Regions from separate parts of the Homo sapiens genome. Here region 1 is linked to region 2. Evidence: promoter capture Hi-C in 16 types of primary human blood cells and fetal thymus (Javierre and others, 2016). All regions are on one chromosome and are shown on one strand. The core of a region is centred on a gene start or on the middle of the fragment in contact, and the rest is flanking DNA. Distances in the headings are between cores, read along the strand shown. Region 1 holds the start of CA1 (carbonic anhydrase 1). Region 2 has its middle 72 kb from the start of PSKH2.

Region 1 (7,029 bases), core at 653-3,152, 620 kb after region 2:
CAGACACCTATAAAACTCGAAGTTCTGCTCTCTGTGATTGTAATTCCACTCTATACCTGGCTTAGCCCTTATGAGACCAAGTCCAATACCTCCCTAATGCTTCTAAGATTCAGGTTCCTGCTAATCCCACCCACTTCTCCTGCCTAAAGGGTAACCTGACTGAAGTATTCCACCCTGTGTGCTCTCCTAGGAGTAAAAGGAGCATCTGCTGGTCTCCGACTGTCAAACCATTTATTCCCTTCCATCCTCCTCGCCTTCCCTTTCTCATTGTCAGTATCCCTACTCCCACCCCTATCTTTTCCGTCCTAACAGCATCTTCTCCTCTTGCCCTCTAAAAGACTACGTAAGTAAAATTCAAACCCACTGCCCCAGCTTCTCTGATATTTATACAGACATCCAAAATACAAACACATTTGACTGAAGTAGGCTCTTCTGCACTGACTATCCATAACTCATCACCCTGCTTCCACATATCCCACATCACACATTTACCCAACTGATAATTGCCCCAGAGATGAAAAATACTGAGAAATGAAAACCACTTCCAAACGGCCTTTTCTTCTGTATTGGGGTGCCCCCTCATGGCAAGTGGCAACTGCACTCGTATTTCCTCAATACATACCACAGATGGGCTACCCAATGAACAACTGCATATTCTCACCATATGCCCAACAAAAGCCACTGTCTTCCTCCAGTCCCATTCTTTAGTAATTTCCCTTTACCTAAATCAAGGTACAATTTTCCAGTCTAATGGTAATGCCACAAAACTATATTGTGTCCCAACCAACAAGGGTGTTTATCCCCTCTCCTTTGCCCTTCCATTACTCTGAAACTGGAAGCCACGAGATGCATTCTGGCCTCTCTTGGCATTCCTATTTATATAAATGTTAATTATTCTTTCCCTACCCAGCCAAATGTCATTGATGTGCCACATTTGTACCTATAATACTGGGACTCACCACTGCTCTGGGACTTGCTGCGATGGCCACAAGGACCATTGCTTTAGCCCAACAGTCAAAAATAATTGATGCTACCCTACAAATGTCCAAAACTCTAGTATATCATATTTCTAAGTTACAGCAAATATTAGTCCTGCTAAACCAGGGAGCTTTGGCAAAAATGTTTTTTGACAGTAAATTTGTCCTTGATTATATATTAACTAGTCAAAGAGGTGTTTGTAACATTATTAGAGCTTCTTGTTGTAGGTGGGTTAACACCACCAATCAAGAGGTCATTCTAACAGAAAGCCTGGATCAGAAAACCATCACCCTAAAAAAACATGCCTTACATATTTAACACACTCTGAAATCCAGTCAAAATATGACTAAAGGCCCTTGCCATGACTGATGTATTCTCCTGGCCAACGCCAAACAAATGGGAGCCTGGTTACGAGTCAGCCTTCAGGGACTTGTCACATTTCTACTTGGTTTCTTCCTTGTTATTGTCATAATAAAATGTTTTCTATGCTGTTTAGTGCAACTTAGGCCCTATTCTGTAGAAGTCTCCTCTACTATTCAGGCCACTCAAACACCCCAAATAATTGAGTTCAAAATCGACATCAAGATATAAAGGAATCAGTGACTAAATATATTTCATATATGGTATTTTTATTGATTATTGTGCTGTCTTGACCTAGTATGGAGGCCTTGGCTAGAGGCTGGTCAGTTTCCTCTCTTGAGCAGCTGATTAAATCCACACCCCAACCACTTCCCTTATCAGGTTCTCACACTCTGGGGCCACTATGTACCCACTCTAATCACCACAGGGCCAGACATCAGACAATTAAGGACAGCGCCCATGCCCCAAAGCCCGCCAAAATTATGCAAATTATTCAAAATTATTCAACCTAGCTAACCCCACCCTTTTTGCTGTACATAAGCTGCCCATTCCCCCTCCAGCCTGTGGTACCCAGTCCTCAGGTGCAACCCCCTGCGTGGTCCTCTGTGGCAGCCTTCTCTCATTCAGAGCTGTAAGTAACAAAGACTTCTGCCTTTCATCTAGCTGAGCATTGAAGTGTTTTATCCGACTGCCAAAAGAATCTTTAAATCTTGTAAAATACAGTCCTACCTACATCTTAATTACTATTCAATGAATGAAAGCTGCAAAGCTTAAAAAACCTTTATAGTTTTTCTAAACCTTTTATATTTATCAAGCAGATCTCTGTAAATCTGTAAATCTGAAAAGGATAATATAAATTACCTTTTTTTTTTTTGAGACAGAGTCTCACTTGGCAGCCTAGGCTGGAGTGCAGTGGCACCATCTCTGCTAACTGCAACCTCTGCCTCCCAGGTTCAAGTGATTCTCCTGCCTCAGCCTCCCGAGTAGCTGGGATTACAGGCACATGCCACCACACCTGGCTAATTACTGTATTTTTAGTAGAGGGGATTTCACCATGTTTGCAAGGCTGGTCTCGAACTACTGACCTCAGGTGATCTGCCCTCCTCAGCCTCCCAAAGTGCTGGGACTAGAGGCGTGAGCCACTGTGCCCAGCCAATATAAATTACCATTTAAAATTATTCCATGACTAATGTTCAATTTGACGTTAATTCCCCTAAACAAATAATGCAATTGATAGACTTGGTTAATTAAGTTCCTTTAAATATTATATATTATATCAATTACAAATTTAGTCTACCTGAATCTCTCAAGCATTTCAAATGCCTGACACATTAGTATCTTTTATACATCTTGCAAGTTTATAAAAGGAGGGAGGGGGCTCTAATAATTAAAGCAATTCCAGTAAAAGTAATAAACCAAATTTATGCAGTAGTAAGTTATGTTCTCTTAAACATTCAAACACTGTGTATAGACTGAAGAAAATGCTCTTGTACTTTAAAATTGAAATTATATGGTTCATATATCTGATTTTCTAATATATCAGGTTATATTAAATGCTTCAAGTAACTTAACAAACAATCTTTCATAGGTTATCTCAAGGATTAAATAATTAAATTTCTAAAGTTAATACAAATGTGTTAATATTGTGGATTTGACTAACTTCAACATTCTTATAGTTATTTCTCTCTTCTCCCAGTATTGTAAATCCACTTATGCAAATAAAGAGAATAGATAGATGTATGATCTGATTGGGCTGAGGATACTGTATCAGAGAATCAAGGCCAGGGTTGAAGTGTCAGTTAAAGAATTTGAGAGAGGGTCAGGGACCTAATTAGGTACCACACATGCCCAGGGTGCCTCTACACGACCCGAAAGTCAATCTGCTGGGCATCTCCTTGAGGTAACAGAGCTTTCCAAATTCACACTGTTTCATGCAGTCTAGTATATCATGTGTACCCTTACCTAGTTTTATTTATTTATTTATTTATTTATTTATTTATTTATTTATTTATTTATTTTTGAGACAATTTCTCTGTCACCAGGCTGGAGTGCAGTGGTGTGATCTCAGCTCACTGTAACCTCTGCCTCCTGGGTTCAAGCAATTCTCTTGCCTCAGTCTCCGGAGTACCTGGGACTACAGGCATGTGCCACCACGCCCGTCTAATTTTTGTATTTTTAGTAGAGACAGGGTTTCACCATGTTGGCCAGGATTGTCTCAATCTCTTGACCTCTGATGATCCGCCTACCTCGGCCTCCCAAAGTGCTGGGATTATAGGTGTGAGGCACCGTGCCCGGCCCCCTTACCCAATTTTTAAAGTTACCTCTTTTATAACTTTTTTGTTTTTTTGAGACAGAATCTCACTCTGTCACCCAGGCTGGAGTGTAGTGGCATGATCTCTGCTCACTGCAACCTCTGCCTCCCGGTTCAAGCAATTCTCGTGTCTCAGCCTCCCGAGTAGCTGGGATTACAAGTATGCGCTACCACACCCGGCCAATTTTTGTATTTTTAGTAGAGATGGGGTTTCGCCATGTTGGCCAGGCTGGTCCTGAACTCCTAACCTCAAGCGATCCACCAGCTTGGACCTTCCAAAGTACTGGGATTAAAGGCATGAGCCACCATGCCCAGCTTCTTTTATAACTTATAACTGTGTAATTTGATAGTTGAAATTCCCTCTATAGGATATTATTCACTACTCGACTGAATTCAATCTCTTTATTGCCTGATTGGAGTCAACTTGCTTTTTACATGTTTTATATCCAGTTCAATATCAAGAATCCTTTTGTCATTTTATTGACCATTCCCTACGTGATTAACACTATCTACTGAATACTGTATCTCAGAATATTACCTACATTTGCATCAAGCTCATGATCTATAGCTCACCTACATCCACCATTCTATTTTTGAAATTTGGGATAGCATGTGCCAGGATACAGTTGTTCTGCCTGAGTCTTCACTGCACCTCGAGTTATTTTGAGGTTCATCCATCTTATCTGAACTTTCTCCGTGCTCTGGATTTTATTCCTCTCCAAGAGACACAAACTCATTTAGAGCATGTAGATCTTCCCTTGGGATGTTTCTGCCTATTTTATTCCTTGTTTCTATCATGCCAACATTTGTTCTAATCTTTCTATTTGTTCTAATCTTTTTTTTTTTTCAAAAGAAAAGGAAAAAAACAGGTATTTTATGGCACCACTGGTCAGTGTAGGGCGGGTGGGTGGCACATGGCATTAGATGTGCTAGTTGGGCAGAGCTGTGCTGTTAATTTTCTGAAAGTGGTAACAAAATACATAAAATAAAACAGTGCAATGCCAGGACAGGCCAGCATGCGATAGGTGAGTTCTTCCCTCCGAAGCCTTCTTTCCAGGCTGTTTCATGTGTCTTTCTTTAGTGTGTCCTTCCTGTCTAATTAGGTTTCTCTCATTGCCCTTGTCCTAATGTTTTACAATTATCTAAGGTGGAATAGCACAGTGGAGAGAAGCAAAAATGTTGGAGTGAGACAGACTTAGGCAGAGGTGGCAATATTGTAAAAATAATGATGCTTAAGCTGTAAGACCATTCATTGCTTGATTTACTTCCAAGATCCCAGAAGGGCACAAGAAATGTGTTCACACAATCATATGTTTTATATAAAATTTGCAAAAGATATTTAACCACAATCAGTCAACCCCATTATCATTTTACTCTGACTGTACGGCATCATATTTCCTGTATCAGGTGGTATTGGAGGGGCTGTGGGCATTTTTGAGACCCAAATGGGGAAAGTTGAGTTGAGAATAATTTTAGTTTGGCTTTAGTGGGTCATATTTATGTGGGTATCAGTCATTTCTGTATATTGATAATTTATTGCTAGCCATTCAGGGTAGCATCCACTATGCCAAAACAAATATGCAGGGCCAGAAGTCATATTGAAAAGTGAAAGTGTGCTTCCTAATGGCTCCCAGGTTCAGAAATTTGTAGGTTATTGAAGAGAAACAGATGGTGAAATGCACAGAGACAGAGCTAATCGAGGGAAAATAATTTCAATCATCCAGTGTGTAAAGCTGCAGGCAGAGAATTTGGTTTTAGAATTTGACCAGAAAACCTAGTTAAGACAGGTTCTCTCAGGAATGTATCTGATAATGTCTTACGTACGATTAAAACCACATCATATGTTACAAAATTTTTTTGATGAAAATAGTACAAAATTAAAGAATCCTGTGTATTAAGACACAAACCTATAGCAGTACTTCAAATGTGTGTGAAGTTTTATGAATCCCAGTATTAATAAGAACAAACAAAAATTTTAATCAACCATGCTTGAAATAAGACTGAAATATCTTTCTATTCTCTCTACAGAAAATAATATAAAATTTTTGCTATATGAAGAGATAATCCAGAATTATGAAATTAAAATATAGATAAAAGCTCTTAGAGGATTGTGTCTGGCAGTGGCTGAATATGAAATATTGTTTTTTAGATTTTGTGATATTTTTGATATTTAACTTTGTAAAATATTTGATTTATTATAAATCATTTTCTTGTTCTAAATAGATATTCACTTTTGTCACTAATTTTATTATTAATTTTGTATTCTTTTTGTGGTAAAATTAAATTTACTACTTTAAACATTTTAAGGTATACAGGTCTGTGGCATTAAGTACATTGACGTTGCTGTGCAACCCCCATCGCGCATCATCTCCAGAACTTTTTCATCTTTCCAAACTGAAACTCCATATTCATTAAACAATAACTCCCCACTCCTTCCTCCCCCGAGCTCTGGCAGCAATTACTCTATTTTCTAGCTCTATAAATTTGACTATTCTAGTTATCCCATATAAGTGGAATCACACAGTATTTGTCCCTTTGTATATGGCTTATTTCACTTAGCATAGTGTCTTCAATCTTCCTCCATATTGTAGCATGTATCATTTCTTTTTAAGGCTGAATAATATTCCCTTGTATATACAGTAGTCCCCCTTATCTGTGAGGATACGTTACAAGACAATACCTGAAACCATGGCTAGTACCGAACCCTATAAACACTATGTTTTTTTCCTTATACAAACACATCTATGATAAAGTTTAAATTATAAATTAGGAATAGGAAGAGATTAACAACAATAACTAATAATAAAATAGAACAACTATAACAATATATCATAATAAAAGTTATGTGAATGTAGTCTCTCTCTCTCTCTCAAAATATTGCATTGTACTGTACTCACCTTTCTTGTCATGGGAGATGCTGTGATGCCTCTGTGATGAGATGACAAGAGGTGAATGATGTAAGCATTGTGATGTAGCCATAGGCTGCTACTGACCTTCTGTATTTCTGAATCAGTGTAACCAGCCCTTTGCGGCGTGGTGTCAACTCATTTCTTGCTTGCTGAAGTCTTCGCAGATGCTCAGTGCTTTCTGGTGCAACTGGTGGTTATCAAAACATGTTTTCTATTCATGTCTTCCACCCACCCATTTAATGTCTTTTCCGTCTTAACGAAACACCCATCTTGCACTGTAGCTGTAACTTTTACAGTTTGAGTTGCAACACCAACACTAGCACGAATTTCTTTTTCCTCCTTCACAATTACCTGGATAGAAGATTTGTTCTTACCGTAGATCTTAGCAACCTCAGTATATGACTTTTTTCCTCTCCTTATTAAGCCAAGAGCTTTCAAATTTTCACTTAAAGGAAGGACTGATGGCTTCTC
Region 2 (6,974 bases), core at 19-2,518:
TAGGCATGGATGACCCATAATTATTTAATAATAACAAAATTTAAATACTATGACTTTATTCTGCTATTACAAACTTAGGAAAAATTGTTTGATTGATTAGGATTTTAGTTACTATACAGAAAATAAAAAAATTGTGCATGGAGTATTCCAGAAATGACCCTTTTATGTCAATTCTTGATATATAAGGAAAAGTATATTTCAGATAGAGATGTGTTTGTATACAAAAAAGAACAGTTTTATTTTCAGAGGCAATTCAAGGATGTACTGTCCATAGCCTCCTGTCCTCTATTAGCATTAGCTACAAAACACAACCTGTCCAGGGACATTTGTAACATTGCACAAGAATTTCATGGTGAAAATCTGAGGCTTATGAGTCATTAATGATTGTTTTACTATTTCATATAAAGAGAAGGCAGTAAGTAATAATTAGGTTTTTAGAGGTAGGTTTTTGGTGTCATATAGAAGGCAGTGCATAATTCCCATTAATAATAGAATTTCTGTGTTGAATTATCTACACACCCAACGTGCATATTTACCCATTCATAGATGGTCTCTAAAACATGAGAATATGTGTAACATATTGCTTTGACTACTTAATAGCAGTTACTTCCAGTATAGAAATGATTTAGCAACAATAAAGATTATGTGTTCTGAAGCATAAGAGCACCTTGAAGATTGCTCCGGAGAATTTTTCCTGAGGCTTTCACTATTGTATCAGCTTCTCACTGGTGCCCATTACTTTAGCAATAATTAAAATGAGGTAAACATATCCTAAGAGCGTTTAATATAACTGTGTTAATGAAATTGTCTTCTAGTTAATTAAGATTCTGAATGTTAATATGGTCATAGCTGCTACTGACAGTACTGTTCAATTTCATGCTGGCTTCTGAAGTGAACGTAGCATTACGCACATTCTCTGTCCACTGGGTTTCTAATCGGAATGGGTTGCAGGCAAGGCACAGAGAAAGGATAGGAATCACTCAAGGGAAAGGGGCTTTTGATAGACTGGAGTGCAGGAATACTGTACTCAGTATTATGCAACTGACTCTGGAAATCTTAAGGTGACTGAAGCTGGTTCTTAAGAAAGGTGAGTTTGAGAAAGAATTAATATGAGGAAAGGAAAGGAAACAAGGTAATGAGCTTATTTAGTTCATTCAAATGCAGATAAAGAAGTAAAGTAAGATTGTGAAAAAAGTAAAGGACCTAATAAGGATTTTTGTTTATTTAGGCTGAAGAAATTGGATGCAGTTACACCAAATATGCAGGCCAGGGAGGAGGGTCCAGTGGTCTTGAGGGGCTGCTCATATTTGATCTAAAAGGTTAAGTATAGTTCCTGGGAAGAAAGAAATAAGCACGGTAATATGGTCACAGAATGCAAAACTATAGACACCTTTTTGTTAGATATATATTAAAGAAAGCTGGACCCAAAATTGTATTCTAGTCCCAGCTGTGCTGTTTTCTGACTGTGCAATTTTAGAAAAATCATCCAACTCCTTTTAGTTCAGTTCAACATACTTTTTTAAACTATGTGGCCTGCCCTTTGCAGGGTGCCAGAAACAGATTAAATATCTGCCCTCAAGGAAATTGCAGTGCGGTGGAAGAAGGTGCCCCATAGATGGACTAAACCTCAATCTTCCTCAGCTGCAAAATAAAGATAATATGTATCATTTTGGTTCAAATGTGTTTCCTAGAAGGTTAAAAATAAAAGTTTACATCAGTAAAACTAATGGTTTAGTAAAATTAATATTTCAAATCAGTTTAAAGTATATAAAATTTGCACAGTAATTCCAATTTGAATGTTTCGTTTCATTTAGTTGAAAGAAAGGTTTGGTAATGACTTATCAGACATCACATAATCTTAGTTACCCTAGTGCCCCATGAGGAAAGGTTAATTTTCTATGTGAAGGTGTATGTGCATGTGTGTGTGTCTGTGTGTGTGTGTGAGAGAGAGAGAGAGTGAGATGGTGGGGGTGGGCAGGGTTTGTCCTAGCTAAGAAGGGCCTGACATTTGGAAATATCTGTTGTTAGAATAAGGTAAGACCTCTGTTGCTCAGGCATCTATTTGCAACCACCATTCAACATTGGACCTAAGAGTTTCCTGGGAAAAAAAGTTGAACTGTGTCTACAAATGAGTTTCAAGAATATATAGCCTTATCTTAAGAAATGAGAGGACTGAGATGGGGAGAGGCAGCATTTAAATTTCAAGGGGTAGCCTAGGAGAGAAGTCATCCTAAGGGAAGTAGTTTAGCCATGGCATAAATAAGACCTGAGCATTGATGAGCACTGATGAGCACTGATGAGCATCCTTAGCACCACATATAGGCCATTACCTAAAACCAGCCTGGTGGAGAGGTGTCTATGGAATGAAAGATTTGAGTGTAATTCTGTGGCTCCTCAGAGTCCTGTTGTGGGACTCTTTTTTTTATAGATGCAATGGAGGAGAGAAAGGCTTTCAGCTTTTCATTTGCAACTAATTTCTAAGTAGTTCTGGAACCACAAGTTTAGATGGCTCTGCAGTGACAGCATAAGCCACCATATTGCAGCAGACAAACTTTGGCTCAGAGCTGAGCATTGAGCAAAAATGGCAGCATAGGCAAGTGGCAGCCTGGAATGAAGCATTGATAAGACTGTGGTAGCTCAGCAGAGCCAAGCACTGATCACTAGTGATGAGAGGTGAGCCCAGCTCCAAAATGATTTGAAGATGCATGTAGACATCCTCAGCAGTTCCCAGAAACCCCAGAGTTGTAGAGAAGCTGAAAGTGCAGCAAAGATGATGGGCAGATAAGATCTTGATGTTAAAATTCTTGTAATAGAATTGGCATCCAAAGTGGAACCCAGAAATGGAAACTAGAAGATGCTATTGTCACTTTTCAGGAGCTCAGCCAATCTTACCTGAGCTCTAGTTTAGCATATAGTTACATTTTAAATTAATCACACCTTTTCCATTAGAATTAATTGATTTATTTATGACAATGGGACTGACACTGTTAAAGAACTGATGCTTGGAATGGATGTAGACCCTTAGAAATCCAGGCTTGAGCAAATATGTGAACTACAGCAAGTTTGAATTAAGATTCCAGAGGCCTTTTTAAAGACTCTAGTCATATATAAAACACTTGGCATGCGTGTTGGAAGGAAAAAAATCATGAGTGCAAGGCCCATTAGTTTGCTGCCAATGAATCCTCAGAAAGATACAGAGAAAGTTATTCTTAAGTCACCCTTCTAACATCCTATCTTAGATGTTGATTTTTTTTTAACCTTTAGCTAGATGTGGGGCAAATACTTTTATGGAACCAGAATCTTTGGATATGAGATCCATTTTATAACACTAAGCTTCAGCATGCCAAGCTTGGAGAAAGAAAGTTCAGTTATTACCAGAAGTCATCCAGTTTTCCCCTTGGTCATCATAGGTCACAGCTCTCTCCAGCTCAACTCCATGAGTACTTCCTATGTGTATGGTGCCCTGCTAGGTTACTACAGCATCCTGGGAAGCACATGTAGAGGGTGTGCCATAAATGCCAAAAGGAGTTATTGACAAGGCGTTCCATCCTAGTTGGAGGCACCAATATATATGTAATAGAAATTAATAAATAAGCTGGACATGGTAGTTCACACCTGTAATTCCAGCAGTTTGGGAGGCCAACACAGGAGAATTATTTGAGGCTAGGAGTTCAATACCAGCTTGGGCATTATAGTGAGACCCTTTCTCTAAAATACATATATATATATATATTAGCCAGGTGTGTTTTGGGATGTTGAAATGGGAGGATCAGTTAAGCACAGGGGTTCAAGCCTTCAGGGAGCTACGATCATGCCACCACACTCCAGCCTGGGCAAGAGAGTGAGACCCTGTCTCTGTCCATCATTCAGTCAACCAGCCATTGCTGGCATTTGAAGTTAGCTTTAAAGGATACATAGAGTTCTGACAGGTAGAGAAGGTCTGGGAAAAGCTATTAAGGTACATAGGGGGAAATTGTGCATCAATGGAAACTACACATTATCTACAGATTACCCCTCCTGGCTACCTGATTCTATGAGAGCTATTTTACAGTTCTGTAAGTTGTGGGTAACTGATAGCAATGTGTGCTAGCTTCCACAGGCTGCTGTAACTTTGTGGCATAAAACAATAGAAATTGATTCTGTCATAGTTCTGGAGCCAGAAGTTTGAAATCAAGGTGTCATCAGAGCTCCACTTCCTCTGAAGACTCTAAGGGAGCTTCCATTTCTTGCCTCTTCCAGCTTCTGGTGGCTCCAGGCATTCCTTGGCTTGTGGCTGCACCTCTCCAACACCTGCTTCTGTGATCACATTGCCTTCCCCACGTCTGCTGCCAAATCTCCACTGTGGGTGTCTTATAAAAATATTTGTCATTGGATTCAGACCTCAGCTTGGTAATAGAGGATGATCTCTTCAAATTAAAATCCTTAACCTAATTACAGCTTCAAAAAGCATTTTTCCAAATGAGTTAACATTCACAGGGTCTAGGAATTAAGATGTGGACATCTGTTATTGGGCTTCTATTATTCAACCCGCTAAAATGCAAATAAATTTTGTCCATAGATATGCAAATTCAATTTTTCTGGTAAAGATTCAGTTGACTTCCCTACCTCTCAACCCTTTTGGAAAAATCAGGTTTGCCTCTATTTTCACATTCATTTAAATACTCCTGATTTATAAATGAGTCTGTTCTTTAGATTCTCTTTTCAAATGGCAATGACACCTACCTGGTATCCTCATTGATTGAGTTAAATGAATAAAATCTGTAATGTGTTCATTTTATATAAACATAAAAGTTATGAATTTGGGGGATAATTATCTTTTAAAAATAGCTTTAAGAGAAAAGTGCTGATTGAAAAGAATGTTATAATCATTTATTTACTTGTTCTCTCTTTCTCTCTCTCCTCCATTAAAATGTAAGTTTCGGCCGGGCACAGTGGCTTACGCCTATAATCCCAGCACTTTGGGAGGCCAAGGCAGGTGGATCACGAGGTCAAGAGATCGAGACTATCCTAGCCAACATGATGAAACCCCGTCTCTACTAAAAATACAAAATTAGCTGGGCGTGATAGTGCATGCCTGTAATCCCAGCTACTCGGGAGGCTGAAGCAGGAGAATTGCTTGAGCCCAGGAGGCGGAGGTTGTGGTGAGCTGAGATCACCATTGCACTCCAGCCTGGGCAACAAGAGTGAAACTCTGTCTTAAAAAAAAAAAAATCAAGGTTCACAGTAGCAGGCATTTTTTTCCTGTTTTGTTCACTGATGTATTTCTAGTACTGAAAAAGTGCCTGACACATATTAAAGACATCATAACAACTATTTTTTTAGTGAGTGAATGTTGGATTTTAAAAAAATGAGCAATCTGGGGTGTTTTATATTTAAAAGCACTTGGTGGGAGTGAATGTGCTGAAGGAGCAGGGTGCAAATTGCTGGTGTACTTGAACGCCATGCCCAAGCATTTAGCCTTTGTCTAGGGGTGATGAGGAGTCATTGAAAGTGCAAGCCAATCTTTTACTGAGTTCTGCATTCATCTTGGTCTGTTTTTCTGAAACCAGACTATTAAGGCTCTAGCCAGTAATATAATGATTTCTGCTCCGTGTATAACATTTTTCTTTTTGAAGGGCAGAGAATTCGGATTTTACTAAAATGGAGATTTAGTAATGATAAAAGATAATAATCACAGTGGTTTATAAAATGACATGAAGACATCAAGCTCAACTTCTGGCTATTGGTGTTTGAAAAAGAGATGAAGAATTTTACAGTGAGCAGACACCAATATACATTTATCTTAGCATATCTGTATACATCAGAAATTCTTTTTGATGTAATAATATTGTTGAAAAGATCATTAATATTTATTTCAGAATAAAATATGGTATTTAATGATTTTCAATTCCAGATCCTAGAAATCCATAAATATGAAAGAATCTAGTACAGCCGGGCGCGGTGGCTCATGCCTGTAATCCCAGCACTTTGGGAGGCTGAGGCAGGTGGATCACAAGGTCAGGAGATCGAGACCATCCTGGCTAACACAGTGAACCCCATCTCTACTAAAAATACAAAAAATTAGTCGGGCATGGTGGCGGGCACCTGTAGTCCCACCTACTCAGGAGGCTAAGGCAGGAGAATGGCATGAACCCGGGAGGTGCAACTTGCAGTGAGCTGAGATTGCGCCACTGCACTCCAGCCTGGGCGACAGAGTGAGACTCTGTCTAAAAAAAAAAAAAAAAAAAAAAAAAAAAAATCTAGTGCAAAACCAATAGATGAAACTCAGAAACATGGTGGGAATTCATGCCTAGTTTCTAATTTTCTGGGTCTTTTTTTTTTATCTCTATTTAGTTTCTAAATACATATCAAAATATTTTTCTGTGTTACCTAATGTGTCATCATGTCATCCAACATAAAAGAGTATATGCTGAACTCATCGAAGGCTTGTTTTTATAAGTTGATATTTTTGGTAAACAATCTGTACTTTAAATTGATGAATCTTGAATTATTTACTGCAAGGAACTCTGTCAGATTGAATGTAAAATAGCATAGAATTTATGGTAAAGTCTGAATTTGCTCAGGTCCAGGAGAGTCACAGGGCATCTCTTGTTCAGGGACAGTCCCTATTCTCTCTTTGTATTCTGAATCAATGGCTCTGTTGTAGTCAAGGCTACGGTGACGCATTGTGAGGCCAGGGAGAAATACAATCCCAGCTCTGAAGTTGTTGGAAAGAATACAGATTTGTGGAACACAAATTAGTCTCTAGTATGTTTTAGTGATACTTCGGATCATTAATGACCTGAATTTTCTAGAAGTTTAAGTTTCTCTTATTATTAACCCAAACCAAAATTACCCTATTGTTTCCAACCAAGCTGTTTTCTCTCTTATGAAGTCATTTACCCATGTAAGAACAAATTTTCTAAGTATTCACAGAGAGTTTAAACAGTTTTCAGGGGCAGAGTGCAAGGGAAAATCACAGTTTAGAGAATATA

The links. Contacts are between HindIII fragments. The CHiCAGO score rates a contact against its expected background, and 5 or more counts as called.
Region 1: a contact is called between the fragment with the promoter of CA1 here and a fragment that was not itself captured in region 2, in 16 of 17 cell types (M2 macrophages, total B cells, naive B cells and 13 more). The highest score is 10.1, in M2 macrophages.

The regions. Positions count from the first base shown.
Region 1 is chr8:85,372,986-85,380,014 of GRCh38, reverse strand. It overlaps CA1 (carbonic anhydrase 1), which reads left to right and starts at 1,902. Exons shown (of 8, transcript NM_001128831.4): 1 at 1,902-1,969. RefSeq lists a promoter at 1,083-1,874. The HindIII fragment of the contact is 5,896 bases long and covers 1-2,109 here.
Region 2 is chr8:85,993,868-86,000,841 of GRCh38, reverse strand. No RefSeq gene overlaps it. Among named protein-coding and RNA genes, the nearest start is that of PSKH2, 72 kb to the left of the region's middle. The HindIII fragment of the contact is 4,134 bases long and covers 1-3,335 here.